Linked DNA regions of Homo sapiens: all the other regions are linked to region 2. The links are contacts of gene promoters, found by promoter capture Hi-C in blood cells and fetal thymus (Javierre and others, 2016). All regions are on one chromosome and are shown on one strand. The core of a region is centred on a gene start or on the middle of the fragment in contact, and the rest is flanking DNA. Distances in the headings are between cores, read along the strand shown. Region 1 overlaps P3R3URF-PIK3R3 (P3R3URF-PIK3R3 readthrough). Region 2 holds the start of LRRC41 (leucine rich repeat containing 41). Region 3 holds the start of MKNK1 (MAPK interacting serine/threonine kinase 1).

Region 1 (5,142 bases), core at 2,106-4,605, 260 kb before region 2:
TAAGAAACAAGGAAGAGAACCAGGGCTAAGTAGTTCAGTGCTGCATTCCATACGCTAAATATGAAGTAGCTTCCAATAGAGGTCTGGGCAAATGAAATAAACAGATGTAATCAGCCTAGAGATGGTAGGTGGATTCATGGCTGTGGATAAAACTGCCAGGTAAAATGGCATTGAGAACTGAAGGAATCCAGGAGATGTAAAAGAACAGTCAGATGTCAGAAGAATATTAGATTAGTGAGTTGTGATAGAGTCCATGAAGGAGCTTTCCATGGACAGGATAGTTAACAGCGATGGTTATTGAAGGCATCAAGAAAAGCAGTTTCAAACAGTGGTGGAACCAGTACTGAAATATTTGAGATGGGGAAATAAGGAAATTTAAGACAGTTCTTTCCAAAGGCTTGGCTTTGAAGAGGAGAAAAGAGATAAAGGTATATGGGATGATTGAGTAGGGATTAGGGGAGTAGAATGAGAACCAACCAACCATGTTTAAGTGTCAGTGGAAATGATCCAGTTGAAGTAGAGAAAGAATTGATCTTAATCTTGGGAGATTCCTGAGGTGGAAGAAAATAGATTCCAAAATACATGTGGAAGGATTGACTTTAGTTGGAGGGGACTATTGTAATTTAACAGATGGGAGGGAGAATAGTTATGTAGATATAGATAAGGTTGTAGGTTTGGTGGTAGGAAGGTGAGGAAATTCATAGCCAATCATACTTTTTCTGACAAGTAAACAAGTTTGCTTTTTTGAGACAGAGTTTCGCTCTGTTGCCCAGGCTGGAGTGCAGTGGCACGGCCTCAGCTCACTGCAACCCCTGCATCCCAGGTTCAAGCAATTCTCATGCCTCAGCCTCCCGAGTAGCTGGGATTACAGGTGCATGCTACCACGCCCAGCTAATTTTTGTACTTTTAGTAGAGACGGGGTTTCACCACGTTGGCCAGGCTGTTCTCGAACTCCTGACCTCAGGTGATCCACCCGCCTCGGCCTCCCAAAGTGCTGGGATTACAGGCATGAGCCACCACGCCCAGCCCCAAGTAAACAAGTTTGAAGTGTCGGTGAGATACCCAGGAGCCCAGTGGAAACATCCAGCCAGCGGGTAGAGTTCAGAAGAAAGAACTGGGAAGGAGCTAGGAATTTGAGCATCCTAAACACAGAAGTGCGAACAACTCTGGGATTAGGAGAAATCCATAGTTCCTGGCAGTGGTCTTGGGATGCTGTGTAGCTAAAGTGTAGTGGGGAGAAAAGACATAGGCAAGGTCACTTAGAACAACAGGCTGTTCCCTGCCCAATCTGACTTATTTATAATTGAGTACACATGGGTGGGGCCTGAGACATGGATGAGCGCTGCAATATCCTATGCAACAAGAGGTTATCGCATGTTGGCTCATTACGTTCCCAGAATACAGGAAGCTCAACAGTGTGCCTTGGCAGGAGATGACAAGGGCCTGGGGCAATAAGAGGATAGATTATAAAGCTGGGCCCATTTCCCCCTCCCCCAGAGTAGAATGTGGAAACACTTCATTCTGGGCAGAAATATGAGAACCAATAAACAGCTTATTAGGAGTGGGCAGTGAGGTGTGGAGGAAATGGCATTCAGTTTTAATTTTCTCAGAGTCAGTATCTAAGACTTCTGTGTCTGTGTTCGGTGGACAGGACTCTGGCATCATGCCTAGTTGGAGTCAATGTCCTCCCCTAGGAAGAAAAGAGCCTCTGGCTGCCCCAGTACTAGTCTTTTGGTGCTTACTGGAGAGAAGGTTTGGAAGTTTCAAGGGCTGTTCAACACCTGAGTACTCTTCTCTCTTGACCCCCACTCTGCCCCCAGCCCACCCCTTCATAGCATGAAGACAAAAAATTACTTTATTGCAATGTCTTTATTGCATTACTGGAGCAAGTTGGCCAGACTGTCCCCTCTTGGGGAAGGTATTAAACAAAAAGACCAATAAGTATCTCCTCTCGCCTTTCCCCCTACCCTCCCCAACAATTGCACAGCAATGTCTGAACACATCTGGTGACAAGAACAATTTGTAAAGTGGTCTAGCAACTACATTATGAACTGTCCCATCACAAGACATACAGTTGGCTTTCTTGTGAGTCAGATATTTTTACGTAAACTACACGAATTTTCTTGGACACATCAAAGACAACAGAATAGATTTTTCACAAGTAACGGCACCAAAGTCACATGCTGGAATTTGTAAGGAAACGAGGTTGTTTGCCACAAGTGGCTGGAGCTAAAGCAGGTTTGAGCAGTTGGCAGCAGAGGGCCCAAGCAGGCCCCCTATCTGGACCCTCTGGTTTCTGAGGCCACTGAAGCCTCACAGAGGCCTACTCTGGGTTGTTAAATAGCAGCAGAGACCACCTTAGAAAACAGGAATTGCCCAGGTGCAATTCTCAGTTTAAGAGAACACATGGGGCTGATTACTTGTAGCAAAAAAGAGACCCGTGGAAGACACATTGGCTCTCAAAGCTTCTTCAAAGCACATGAGGCCTAAATAAGTGGAGGTCCCATCAAGGCTTGGAGAGGGAGTGAAAGTGTTGGGAGGGCCTCATTCTTGGCCAGATCAGTGGTAAGGACGCAGGCAGTCTATCCAGGCCCGAATCATGGCGTGCCATCTAAGGCCAGGTGGAGACAACACTGTTCTGTGATGAAAGCTTCACCTGGAAACAATGGGCCTAGTACCTGTGTCCAGCCAGCCCCAAGCTGCTTGCATGTCAGTAGCTGGGTTCTCTAGCCAGGGGTATAATGAACCCCTCTGATCTTGGTCTCTCTTTGCCCTCTGCCTCATTGAAACTGCAGTTAAGATGCCAAGACAGTCCCAGGGTCCAGATCATGGGACAGGACATGGCACTAGACTCTCATGAAGGAGGCCAAGACCTGCTCCCAAGTCATGGGCGTAGAGAAGCACCTTGCTACCCTCTCCCCCTCTACACACCAGGCCCAGTGGGTAGTAGACTGGTCCCTATGCCATTTCCACAGGCTCAGGGTCAAGCAAGTCATGTGGCAACTGGTCAGAAAAGATACTGTCAAACCTCTCAAATGACCCCTGGGTCTTAGATCCCACAAAACAATGAATTCAAGAATGAAAAAAAAAATGAAGGAATGTAGGACTGAAAAAAAGCAGCCCTTCTCCACAAGCCAGCCCAAGTGTAGATAAAGATGGTACTTGGTCTCTCCCTGCACACCGCTGGTGTCTGCCCAACAAGGAGCAGACACATTACTGAATACTACAGCCCTGTATCTGTATTTCCATTTTGGTTTAAAAGACACTCAGAACACACTGAAATTTTAGTACCAGATGGGAGGGATTCCTTGCACGTAATCTTGAGCATCCACCTGCTTCAGCAGGTTCAACACCAGGTGCAAAGCCATCCAGGTGTGCCCAACAGCAATTAGCTTGGTATTATTCAGTAAAACTTTCAGTTAAGATTTCAATTGACAGTTTGGGGAAGGGATGTGCTGGCTATTAGTTAAATGACTTTAGAGGGGGGTTCATTTGTCTCTGTCTCACCCAATCCTGAAACTGCAGTGTAACCAAGAAAAAGCCAAAGAGAAGCACTTCCCTTTCTATCCTCGTCACTAGTAACTGGAGGTTTTTCCAAAATTAAAAATCTGTGTCTACATCATGGTCCATATTTTAGACCCTGTCATGGAAATAAGTGCTCAGGTAAACTAATATTTTTCTTTCACCCCCAGAACTAGAGCTTTCCTAGCTGTAAGCCTTATAAACCAAGATGCAGGTACTGGCTTCTCTAGCTCAGCCAGGGTGCCTGACTGCACAGCTTTGGGTTCAAACAGCTGACTCACTCTGAGCCTATTATGGTCCCAGGATTGGCTCAGAGGCAGCTGGACTCTATTTGTCAAATGAGTGTTGACTGATGGGTGTGGGGCATGATGGGGGCAGGAATAGATGCCTGCCCCCACTCCATTTGCCTAGCTTCACTCAGCTGGAAGGCTTAAGCCACATGGAGCAGAAGATTCCTGGCCTAAAATCAAGGCCACTGGAGCAGGAGGGCAGACTGCACATAGCCTTAATGGCAGGATCACAAAAAAAGGCAAAGAGAAAAGCTTCCAGATGGCTTCTACTAACAGTCTAAACACTAAGCCATCTTCTCTCCCTGCAAAAGCTTCAGAAACCACTGTATGGAAGCACATGTGTAATGTGGTGTGACTCTCACCCTGGACCACAGGGCCCCTGGGTCTGTGATTTACTGAGGCACCTGACCACAATCTGACTCCCCTCCTTAGCAACCTATAGCTCCCAAAACCCCATCCAGCAAAGGAGGGGGAAATGAAGGGAAATTAAACCATGTTTACTATTTCTGCAGGGCCTTTAAACTTGGGGAAGCACATATAATAATGTTGTTCTATATTGTTATTTGGTATATCAAGCCATCTAAAAGCACTGCATTGCACCTTTTCTTTACTCATACAAACAAGTTACAAAGGTTTCAAACAACAGATCATTCTTTAGGCTAAGGAAACACCATACAAGCACCAACTTCATTTTATGATTCAAAGCTCACCATCCCCACAAAAAGAATGCTATTCCTCATCTCAGAGAAACAGGCAGGAAGGACAGAAGGGGTTAGTTACAGTGATCAATTTTAGCGTTTGCTAAAACTCACAAATTCTAGTCTTTTTATGTTCAAGTTTTGGTACAGAAGTATACATTCAACTATGAGTGCCACGTTTTCCCATCAAACATTGGTCTGGCAACAAACTGTTTTGTTGGCTTCTGAACATAATACTTCTTCAGAGGGAGGGGCTGGTGAGATGCTGAAGCCTAAATTATGTTGGTAAGAAACAAAATACCTTCAGTTGAAGGTTTTTTTTATCATCTTGGCTTAGATTATTTAAATGAAATCCCAAGCCTCCCCATTTTCCTTTGGTTGTCTTTTTCATCAAATCCCATTCTATCACAAAACCTAAACAGCCTTCTTCGTGGGGGGAAGAGAGACTGCCAAAGCAAAACACAACTCCCAGCAGAGCCATGCCCCTGCTGCACTCTCAAGAGTTAGATTTTAAAAAGACATGGTCTCTTCAGAGGCTTCCAAATACAACCCCACCCGCTATAACCATCAAGCCTAATATTCTGTTGAGGGTGTCTGGCTAAACAAAACAAAAACCCCAATGAAACAGACTT
Region 2 (4,875 bases), core at 785-3,284:
CAAGGGCCTCCCCGACCACCCTCCAGCTTATCCCGGAGCTTCAGTCCCCCCAAACTCCAGGGCCTTTTCCCCACACCCCCTCCTCATGGCATAACTCAAACTCCGCGCCCTGCAACCTCGAGTCCTCAAAGTCCTCACTCCTGTCCTGACCAGGGCCTTCCTCCTGCAAAGACGCCACGGCCACCCGCAAGGCCTCCTGGTGGAACCTCCCCCGCGCCGCTTCCAGGCCCGGGGCCTGCTCTCCTGCCCCCCTCCCCAGCAGGCCTCGGCCGGGCCTGCCACCTCTTCGCCCAACTCCAACCCCGGCCTCCCGACCCCACCCTCACAGAGCCAGCAGCCTCTCAGGCCCGAGGCCTCCCCTGTCCCCAGCGCGGCTAGGCCTGCTTGGCAGAGCCTCACTTTCCCCTCTTTCACTTGCCCCACGTCGGACCCAAGTTTCCCTCGTCAGCGGCCAGGCCGCGGCCAGCGGTCCCCAACCCACAGCCCCGCCTCCCAGCCCAACTGGCCGGTTCGCCCTCCCCGGCCGTTCATCCCGGCGCCCCAGGCCGCCCTCCATCCAGGCCCGGCCCTTTGGTCCCGGCCGCCTTCAGGCCTGGGGCCCCCGTTCACTCCCATTCAGCCCAAGGCCTCTTGGCGGCGCCGCGCCCCCTGCCACGGCAGCCCGGCAGTCCGGGATCCCCGGGCCGTCGCCCCGCTTGGGGCCTCCTTGGCCCTTCCCGCCTGTCCGTCATTCGAGCCTCCCTCGCTTGTTTAAGCCGCTCCGGGCCCCCCTCCACTCGCTCTCCGGTCCCTCCTCGCCGCTCGAGCCGATCCGAGTGGCCTCCGGCGCTCCCTGTCCTGCGGGTCGCACGGTCGCTCGGTCGCTTAGTCAGTTTGGCACCCGAGACCCCGGTTGTCGGTTCGCTCCCGTCAGCCCTGGGCCGTCAGACAGGCCGCGGCGCCCCGACCCTTTCGTTCGGCCTCTCCCCCTGCCCCATTCCCTCGCTCTCCAATCTGCTGTCCTCCCCTCCGCCCATCGGCTTGGCCTCCGGAATCTCGACCCCCGTGGCGTGTCAGGCAGATGCTGGAGCCCCGGGGCCATCAGTCAGGTTCGGTGGCCCCGGGCCTGGCCTGGCCTTGCCTTAGGCCGGGCCTCCTAACCTCGGCCCCTGCCCTAGGGCAGCCGGGCCATCGCTGCCCACCGGTTCGACATCCGAGACTCTCCTGCCCGGCCCAGCCGAGTGTCAGTTCGCGCGGCCCACAGCCGCAATCCAGCCTCAGTCGCCCGGGCCCAGCCTGCTTCGCTCCAGACCGGGCCTCCTGGCCTCGCCCCCCGCGCCCCCGAGCCAGGCCGCGGTGCGGGTCAGCCTGCCCATTTAGGTCTCCGTCTTTACTCTGTCCAGCCCTGTCAGTCACAAAATTCATTCTCCGATCCTACGAGCTGGCTTTCAGCGCCCCAGGCTGGGCCTTGCCCCGGGCCTCCCGGCCTCGCCCCCCGCGCCCCCCGGCCGCTGGGCCGCCCCTTGCTCTTAGCCAGAGGTAGCCCCTCACCCCGCGACTTACCCCACACCCCGCTCTCCAGAACCCCCATATGGGCGCTCACCGCCCGCCCGCACAGCTCGAACAGGGCGGGGGGAGCGTTGGGGCCCGAGGCCGAGCTCTTCGCTGGCGCCGCCTCCCGGGACGTGGCCTCCATGGTCGTTGCCGCCGCTACCTCACAGAACCAGCAACTCCGGGCGCGCCAGGCCTCGGGCGCCGCCATCTTGGGGAGGTGCGCGAGCCCGAGAGTGTCGCCCGCGGACCGCCATCTTGAAAAGGTCAGCAGTTAGGACGGCTCCATAAGCGATATGGGGAAGAATGTGAATTATTCTAAAGAAATTTCGAAGAAATTAGCACACTTTCCAAGTCTCTTAGGAGCTACTATTTTAGATAAACTCCTAGATCAATTATACTTGGGTGTGGTATGACTAAGGGGATGTTTCTTAGCAAAGCCTCCTCGGGTGCAAACATCAGCTACCCCTAACCTCTGCCTGCGGCTGGTAGTACATGCCAATCTGAGCATGTGTTCGCGACCACGATGAGTGTGCCGCACTTCCGGCCAGATCGCCGGATTTCCGCTGAGTGACCCTTACAAGTCCTTCTTGATCCTGAACTGGGTTAGGTGCCGCTGTTGCTGCTCGTGTTGAATCTAGAACCGTAGCCAGACATGGGACTGGAGGACGAGCAAAAGATGCTTACCGAATCCGGAGATCCTGAGGAGGTAAGGCAAGGCGATCCACTCGGCCCTCTTCTCTGCCCTGAAGCCCAGGACCTAGCCCGCCAAAACACGCACGGGGCCCTCTTAGCCCCCAGTTTACCCTCTAGGGTTTGCATAGTCGGGAGCTCTAGTTCCCTCGACCTTTCCCCAGAATTCGTCCGGTGACTTTGGACAGATAGATGACTAGTTTTTCTCTGGGCCTCGGCTTCTGCATTCTGTGAATGTAGTGAAGGTTTGAGAGCGAAAATGTTTTGTGGACTAAAGTCTTGTAAAAATATGACCTATGTTTGCAGTCAGTCAGATGTTCTGAAGCCCGCGTTTCACAGATTTGGGGAGCAAACAGACCGCCTTGCCCCAGCTCAGGTTAGGAATCCCTACCACATCTTCTATGGAGGTTCGGAAGACCTGGCCTTGTGTTCCTTTTCTTTGAGGAAGGTGTGTGTCTTTGGGGACAATGAAAGAATGTACGATGTGATTCTGTGATGGAAGAGGGAGCTCTTTCCCAGAGAAAGAGTGCTGCTATAATTATTGACTGCTTGCTATTCCAAGTGCTTTATATGCACTAATTAATTTTTTTTTTTTTTTTGAGATGGAATCTCGCTCTGTCGCCCAGGCTGGAGTGCAGTGGCGTGGTCTCGGCTCGCTGCAACCTCCGCCTCCTGGGTTCAAGCGATTCTCCTGCCTCAGCCTCCCAGGTAGCTGGGACTACAGGTGTCCGCCACCACGCCTGGCTAATTTTTGTGTTTTTAGTAGCGACGGGGGTTTCACTCTGTTGGCCAGGCTGATCTCGAACTCCTGACCTAGTGATCCGCCCACCCCGGCCTCCCAAAGTCCTGGGATTACAGGCGTGAGCCACCGCGCCCGGCCCTAATTCATTTCATCTACACACTATTCCTATGAAGTAAGTGTTGGGTACTATTAGTGCCATTTTTACAGATGAGGAAACAAGCATAGAGGTTAAATATCTTTTCTAAGGTCATGCAGCTACCAAATTGGTGCAGCCAGGAATTGCGGCCAAGCAGCGCGGTTCTAGAACCAGGACTCTTATCAATTTTGCGACACAGCTACTAGTTGTTTCTAATCTCATTTCCTGTCCGTCTGTTCTCTGGTCACTTGGGGGCAGCCATTCTGGGCTGTGGGTTCAGAATAATTGGAGACTTATTTATCCCTTAATTTTTCTAGTCTTATTATTTCTAAAAAGAAATAGAACCTGAGGCCGGGCGCAGTGGCTCACGCCTGTAATCCCAACACTTTAGGAGGACGGCCGAGGCAGACAGGTAGCATGAGTCCAGGAGTTGGACCAGCCTGGGCAACGTGGCGAAACCCCGTCTCTACAAAAAATATAAAAATTAGCCGGGCATGGTGGTGAACGCCTGTGGTCTCAACTGCTCGGGAGTTTGAGCCCAGGAAGTCCAGGCTGCAGTGAGCCGTGATCGTGTCACTGCACTCCAGCCGAGGCAACCCGAGTGAGACCCTGTCTCAAAAAAAAAAAAAAAAAAAAAAACTAAAGAAAGAAATGGAGCCTGCCTCAGAAAGGTCAGCAAGATCCACCGCTGCAATAGATGAGAAAAAGCAAGTAATTAAGCAGTCAGTTTTAAACTAGGGTATTCTGGCCGGGCGCGGTGGCTCATGCCTGTAATCCCAGCACTTTGGGAGGCCGAGGCGGGTGGATCGGGAGGCCGAGGCGGGTGGATCGGGAGGCCGAGGCGGGTGGATCAGGAGGTCAGGAGATCCAAACCATCCTGGCTAACATGGTGAAACCCCTTCTCTACTGAAAATACAAAAAATTAGCCGGGCGTGGCGGCGGGCGCCTGTAGTCCCAGCTACTCGAGAGGCTGAGGCAGAATGGCGTCAACCCGAGAGGCGAAGCTTGCAGTGAGCCAAGGTCGCGCCACTGCACTCCAGCCTGGGCGACAGAGCGAGACTCCGTCTCAAAATAAATAAATAAATAAATAAAATAAAATAAACTATGGTATTCTATGAGGAACCCATAATTTTTTTTTTTTGAGACGGAATCTTGCTCTGTCTCCCAGGCTGGAGTGCAGTGGCGTGATCCGGCTCACTGCAACCTCCGCTCCCGGGTTCAAGCGATTCTCTTTTGCCTCAGCCTCCTGAGTAGCTGAAATTACAGGCGCACGCCACCTAATTTTTGTATTTTTAGTAGAGACAGGGTTTCACCGTGTTAGCCAGGATGGTCTGGATCTGACCTCCTGATCCGCCCTCCTCGGCCTCCCAAAGTGCTGGGATTACAGGCCTGAGCCACCGCGCCCGGCTGAGGAACGCAAAATTATTGAGGATTAAATCTTTTTATCTGGTGTGATCTTGGTTTTTCTCAGTGACTGGAAATTTTACATGTAGCAATCCATATTCAAACATATTTGGATTTATTTTTTCAAAACCTGCCATGTTATTTTTGACACAAAATTATCAGTGACACAGAATTACCAGTGTTGTAGCATTGCTAATAGGGAAATGATATAAGGGTCTTGTATCTACGGTCCTAATTTCTGTTTTCTAACTCGGGCAGAATGTAATTTTAGTTTTTTTGGGAAAACTTTTTCAGTTTTTTTTTTTTTTTTTTTGTGACGGAGTCTCGCTCTTGCCTGGCTGGAGTACAGTGGCGCGATCTCACTGCAACC
Region 3 (4,910 bases), core at 1,593-4,092, 300 kb after region 2:
CCAGAGTTGTGGAATTGGAAAATAGATCTGAATGATCTGCCTTAGTTTCCAAGCTATAACACAGAGTTAAAAACACTTTTAAAAACAGTGTCTGGAACACAGCAAGTGTGCAATAAATGTTCGATGTTGTATTAACAACGTAGTAGACTGAAAAAACAGAGTCATGACATTTCACTTCTAGAACTATCTCCACTACTGACTGATTCCTTGTGTAATCTTTTTTTTTTTTTGAGACAGAGTCTCACTCTGTCGCCCAGGCTGGAGTGCAATGGCACAATTTCAGCTCACTGCAACCTCTGCCTTCTGGGTTCAAGCGATTCTCCTGCCTCAGCCTCCCAAATAGTTGGGATTACAGGCACCCACCACCATGCACAGCTAATTTTTGTATTTTTAGTAGAGATGGGGTTTCACCATGTTGGTCAGGCTGGTCTCGAACTTCTGACCTCAGGTGATCCACCTGCCTCGGCCTCCCAAAGTGCTGGGATTACAGGCGTGAGCCACACACCGGCCTCCTTGTGTAATCTCAATCAAGTCCTTTCCCCATCTATAAAATGAAAGTGGCGGAACCAGATGGTTGGTTTCCAAGCTCCTTCTACCTTCAACCATGTAAATTTTTCTCTGATCAAGAAATAACTTTCTCTTCCACATGCTGAGGCTGTTGGCAAGGGAAAATGTGCATTTATAGCTGCTGGTCCCCAGATGGGAGGAACCACTGTTTCCCAAGGCCAAGGGCAGAGTAAACTGATTAGAAAACCACCTGTGAGCTTTCCCCTGTTTGAACTGTACTATTAATACACCCAGTGCAGGTCTCTGAACACAGCATTACCTACCTTCCAACAAAACTCACGGTCAAGGCAAGACAAGAGCCTGAAAACAATGGCTGCAATGAAGAATGCCTGCTTGTGCAGAATTCTTGTACTTTCTTGTTTTTGATGCCTGTAATTAGGGCATCAGTCTAAACTGGGGCCCTCCTTAGGCACAAAGAGGAGGAAAAACACAAAGTCCCATTCTGAACCTGACAGCTCATAAAACAAGGGCCAAACCTAGTAAATAAAAAATGTCACTGACTCACTTAACCACAAACACTGAAGAGGCCTACTATGTGCTGGCCCTATGCTGGACAGAGGAGGAAGGAAAGAGACATGGTCCCTTGCCACCCACGTACTCAGAGTACATATGGAGTGTACATATCCCTAGGCAGACTATGATGAGAGCTATATTAGAGGGTCAGCCTTTGCTACAGAAGATGGAAAGGGGAACAACTAATCCAGCAGAAGGCTCAGAAAAGCTTCACCATGGAGGCCACATGAGATGTAAGAGATGTAAGCCTTGAAAGATGAGGAGGAGGAGGGAAATCCAGGAAGAGAGAATATAAGCAAAGGCTCGAGCAGGAACATGCAGGGAGTGTTTGAGAAACAGAGATTTGGCCGGGCACGTTGGCTCACATCTGTAGTACCAGCACTTTGGGAGGCCCAGGCAGGCGGATCACCTGAGGTCAGAAGTTTGAATCCAGCCTGGCCAACATGGCGAAACCCCGTCTCTACTAAAAATACAAAAATTAGCCGGGTGTGGTGGCTCATGCCTGTAATTCCAGCTACTCAGGAGGCTGAGGCAGGAGAATCACTTGAACCTGGGAAGTGGAGGTTGCAGTGAGCCGAGATTGTGCCACTGCACTCCAGCCTGGGTGACAAAGTGAGACTCCATCTCAAAAAAAAAGGAGAAACAGAGACAACTAGTTTATTTTGACTGAAGCACAGGTTGCAGGTTTGGGAAAACCAAGGGAAACAGGGAGGGGAGAGGTGTGGGAACAAATTGTGCAGGAACTTGTCTGAGGCTGGAGTCCAAACTCTACATCCAGCTTGTCCAACCCGCGGCCCTGGATGGCTCTGAATGTGGTCCAACACAAATTCATAAACGTTCTTAAAACACTGAGATTTTTTTGCAATTTTTTTAAAGCTCATCAGCTATTGTTAATGTTAGTGTATTTTATGTGTGGCCCAAGATGGTTCTTCTTCTTCCAATGTGGCCCAGGGAAGCCAAAAGATTGGACACCACTGCTCTATATAGTAGGCAATGATGCCCACCAAGGTTTCCGAGTAGTGTCTCAGGAAGAGCACAAGGGCACCCATGAAGAGGATGCAAAAGGAACTAAGTAATTCAATTACTCTGGGACCACATTACAGGAGACCACATGCACTTTCTAAGCACGTGCTGGGCTCTGACAGCTCCTGTTCACAGAGCTTCCCTCTCCCATGGCTTCGCTTCATGCAATCTGAGTTGCCATCCCCCACAACTGTCAACATCTGCAAAATACCAGAGTAACAGGACTCCTAACCAACTCTCTGGATTACAGAGAGAGAAGTGTTGAGGTGGGAGCAGATGGGCAGAGGGGGCACCAAAGCCTCTAGCTGGCTCAGTTCCATATAAAACCCAACCCTGGATTTCCTCTTCACATCACTTCCAGCCCAGCCCTCTAATGAAGGGCTGAAGCTAAGGAGAGTGGGCTGAAAGCACCTGGCTGATGGGTGGTGATCCAGTGAGACATTACACCTACTGTCCAGCATGTGCCTGGCGCATGGGCAGTGGTGCCCTTCCCATTCTGCAGGGTCAGTTCCATCTGTAAATCCCACTGAGGCTTCAAGGCCCAGGTCACAACAACTCTTCTCTCAGAGCCTTTCTAAAGTACCCCAATCCAAAATGACCAAGCTCCTAGAAATCACAGCTACCATGTATTCAGCACCCATTACATGACAGGCGCCATACTAGGTGACTTCCATATAATCCTATTCACCCTTCACAATGACCCTATTATGGCCATTTCCTAGGGAAGAAAGTGAAGCTCTGGGAGGGGAAGCAGACTTGCCCCAGGACACACAGCTAAGAGGTGGAAGAGATGAGATCTAAACCCAGGACTCCCTGACCCTGAAGTTGAGCACTTCTAACAACACTTCATTCCTGTGAGCCTGCCTGCCTCTGATCTGCCACTGTCAGGGAGCTTGGAGCTCTCTAGAAGACAGGGTGCACCTGACACTCTTATTACCTTTCCCTGTGGACAGCCATCCACACAGGCAGGAGCCTTTAAATACTGAAAATAAATGAAAACAATTAACTTAAAAATAACGCAGTACACAGATTTCACAAATTCCTCACGTGAAAAACTATTCATGATACTGGACTGCCTGAGCCCTGCGCCCAGCCATAGCCTCGGTCCTGATCCCTGGGAGAGACTGAGTCTCAAACGGGCCACAGAGTAAGCGCCATCTCGGACACCGGCCACGCCCCGACCCCAGGCACAGAGGTCGCAGACAGCTCGGGACAGTCCTGAAAAGCGTCCCCTTAGGCTGTCCCTCCGCAGCTGAATCGCGTCGTGACCTCGGGCAGCCGTGAAGGCCCTGACTGCCCCCTTCCGGGCACACGAGCTCACTCACAGACCCCGGCCCCATTTAGCTCGGAGGAATACCTCGCAGGTCTCGCTTTTACCTTCGCTGGCTCCCGCCGGGGAGCGGTCGCGCGCACCCCTACCTGCAGATCGCTCCTCCGAGAACGCGGAAGAGGCGGTGCTAGATCCAGGGGGTGGGCCCGATCAGAGAGGAGGGTGAGGGGGCGGAGCTGCGCCTGCGCCCTGATGGCTACCCAGGGCCGCCTGAGGGCAGGGGGCTCGAGCTGAGCGAACTGCGCAGGCGTGACAGGGAAGAGGCGGGGAGAGGGGAGATTGCTGGCAAGCGGGTGGGGCTTAGCTCCTCCGGCGCTTTCTTTTCCGAATGGAGGGTGGAGAAGCCCGGGAAGGTAGGAGGCCGGGCGCGACAGGTGTAATTAACATGTACTGAGAGCTTCTGCAGGCCAGGAAGGAATTTTAAAATGCCTTTTATATGTGGGGAAATGCTGCTAGTCTTTTCTAAAACGGGGGCCAATTCTGTACAATTTCTTTAAAAGTCTGAGTGCCTAGAATTTCACCATAAGAGTTTCTCCTTGAGTACAACATTATCCCCAGTATTTCAAAATTTTTAAAACTTTTAAAAGTTCATTTCTTGGGGAAAAACAACTGTAAATAGGTTAATGCCTCAACCAGTCTCCCCACATCCCCTTCCCAAGTCTGCAGCTGCGATGAGAAAGGATGAGAGTGTGGACTGGGATTTAATTCAGGCGCTGACTCCGAGTGATGGAGGTGAACATCCCTTCCCTGCCTGTCTCAGGATTATCGTGAGGATTTGGTAAGCCAAGCTAGTTAAAGAGCCCCAGGGACTTGCTTCCCATCATCCACCTGACAAACATTTGTTCCCTGTCTTGTCGGGGCTGTCTTTTCATCTGTATGATGGAAGGAGATTGGGAATATTAGTGAACATTCAGGACTTTGCTAGATTTCCCAATCTGGGTGAAGGCCGGAGAGGCGGAAGATCAAGCTTCTGTGTTCATTCCCTTCTGGAATCCTGCGGTCCAACCTGAGGGCCCCGATGTATCCTGACTTCTCCCACTCATTACCTTCCGTGGAGGCCGATCCAAGCTTCAAGTCTTCAGAGGCCCTGCTGGCCTGTTCCCTTCCCTGTTGCCTGTGGCAATAGCCCAAGAGATTCAGGACCTATGTTCCAGGTTCTCAAAGTTGCTATGTCCCTCACATGGCAATCAAATTCAGTTAACATCTTTGAGGGCTCTGGGGGTGCTCAGAGGAAGGAGGGCTCCCCCAAAGCAGGTGGAGCTCTAGTCATGACTGTGGCTTATTTCACCACATATTCCACAGCTTGCTGTGGGGTAGGGAGGAGAGGCAACAGGAAACCTCAGAGGCTGCAGTGTTTATGGGAGCCGAGGGTGATGCGGCATCCTTTACTCAATAGGTGGATGCTCTGCCCCAGGCTGGAGAGGATGGCTTACTACCTAGGTCCCTGCTCCAAATATTGTTTTGGAATTTTTTTTCT

The links. Contacts are between HindIII fragments. The CHiCAGO score rates a contact against its expected background, and 5 or more counts as called.
Region 1: a contact is called between a fragment that was not itself captured here and the fragment with the promoter of LRRC41 in region 2, in 1 of 17 cell types (total B cells). The highest score is 5.4, in total B cells.
Region 3: a contact is called between a fragment that was not itself captured here and the fragment with the promoter of LRRC41 in region 2, in 1 of 17 cell types (neutrophils). The highest score is 5.1, in neutrophils.

What each region holds. Positions count from the first base shown.
Region 1 is chr1:46,038,290-46,043,431 of GRCh38, forward strand. P3R3URF-PIK3R3 (P3R3URF-PIK3R3 readthrough) reads right to left here. Exons shown (of 10, transcript NM_001303427.2): 10 at 1,851-5,142. It overlaps PIK3R3 (phosphoinositide-3-kinase regulatory subunit 3), which reads right to left. Exons shown (of 10, transcript NM_003629.4): 10 at 1,851-5,142. Among named protein-coding and RNA genes, the nearest start is that of PIK3R3, 92 kb to the right of the region's middle. RefSeq lists an enhancer at 4,757-5,142. The HindIII fragment of the contact is 1,414 bases long and covers 2,649-4,062 here.
Region 2 is chr1:46,301,582-46,306,456 of GRCh38, forward strand. LRRC41 (leucine rich repeat containing 41) reads right to left here and starts at 2,035. Exons shown (of 10, transcript NM_006369.5): 1 at 1,543-2,035. The coding sequence starts at 1,741. It overlaps UQCRH (ubiquinol-cytochrome c reductase hinge protein), which reads left to right and starts at 2,117. Exons shown (of 4, transcript NM_006004.4): 1 at 2,117-2,239. The coding sequence starts at 2,186. RefSeq lists enhancers at 1-540, 31-150, 1,571-1,970, 1,706-2,289, 2,290-2,871 and silencers at 241-790, 821-890, 1,241-1,390, 1,421-1,470, 1,521-1,580. The HindIII fragment of the contact is 7,686 bases long and covers 1-4,103 here.
Region 3 is chr1:46,600,705-46,605,614 of GRCh38, forward strand. It overlaps MKNK1 (MAPK interacting serine/threonine kinase 1), which reads right to left and starts at 3,564. Exons shown (of 13, transcript NM_001135553.4): 1 at 3,481-3,564. RefSeq lists enhancers at 2,878-3,378, 3,146-3,195 and a silencer at 3,526-3,745. The HindIII fragment of the contact is 3,112 bases long and covers 1,287-4,398 here.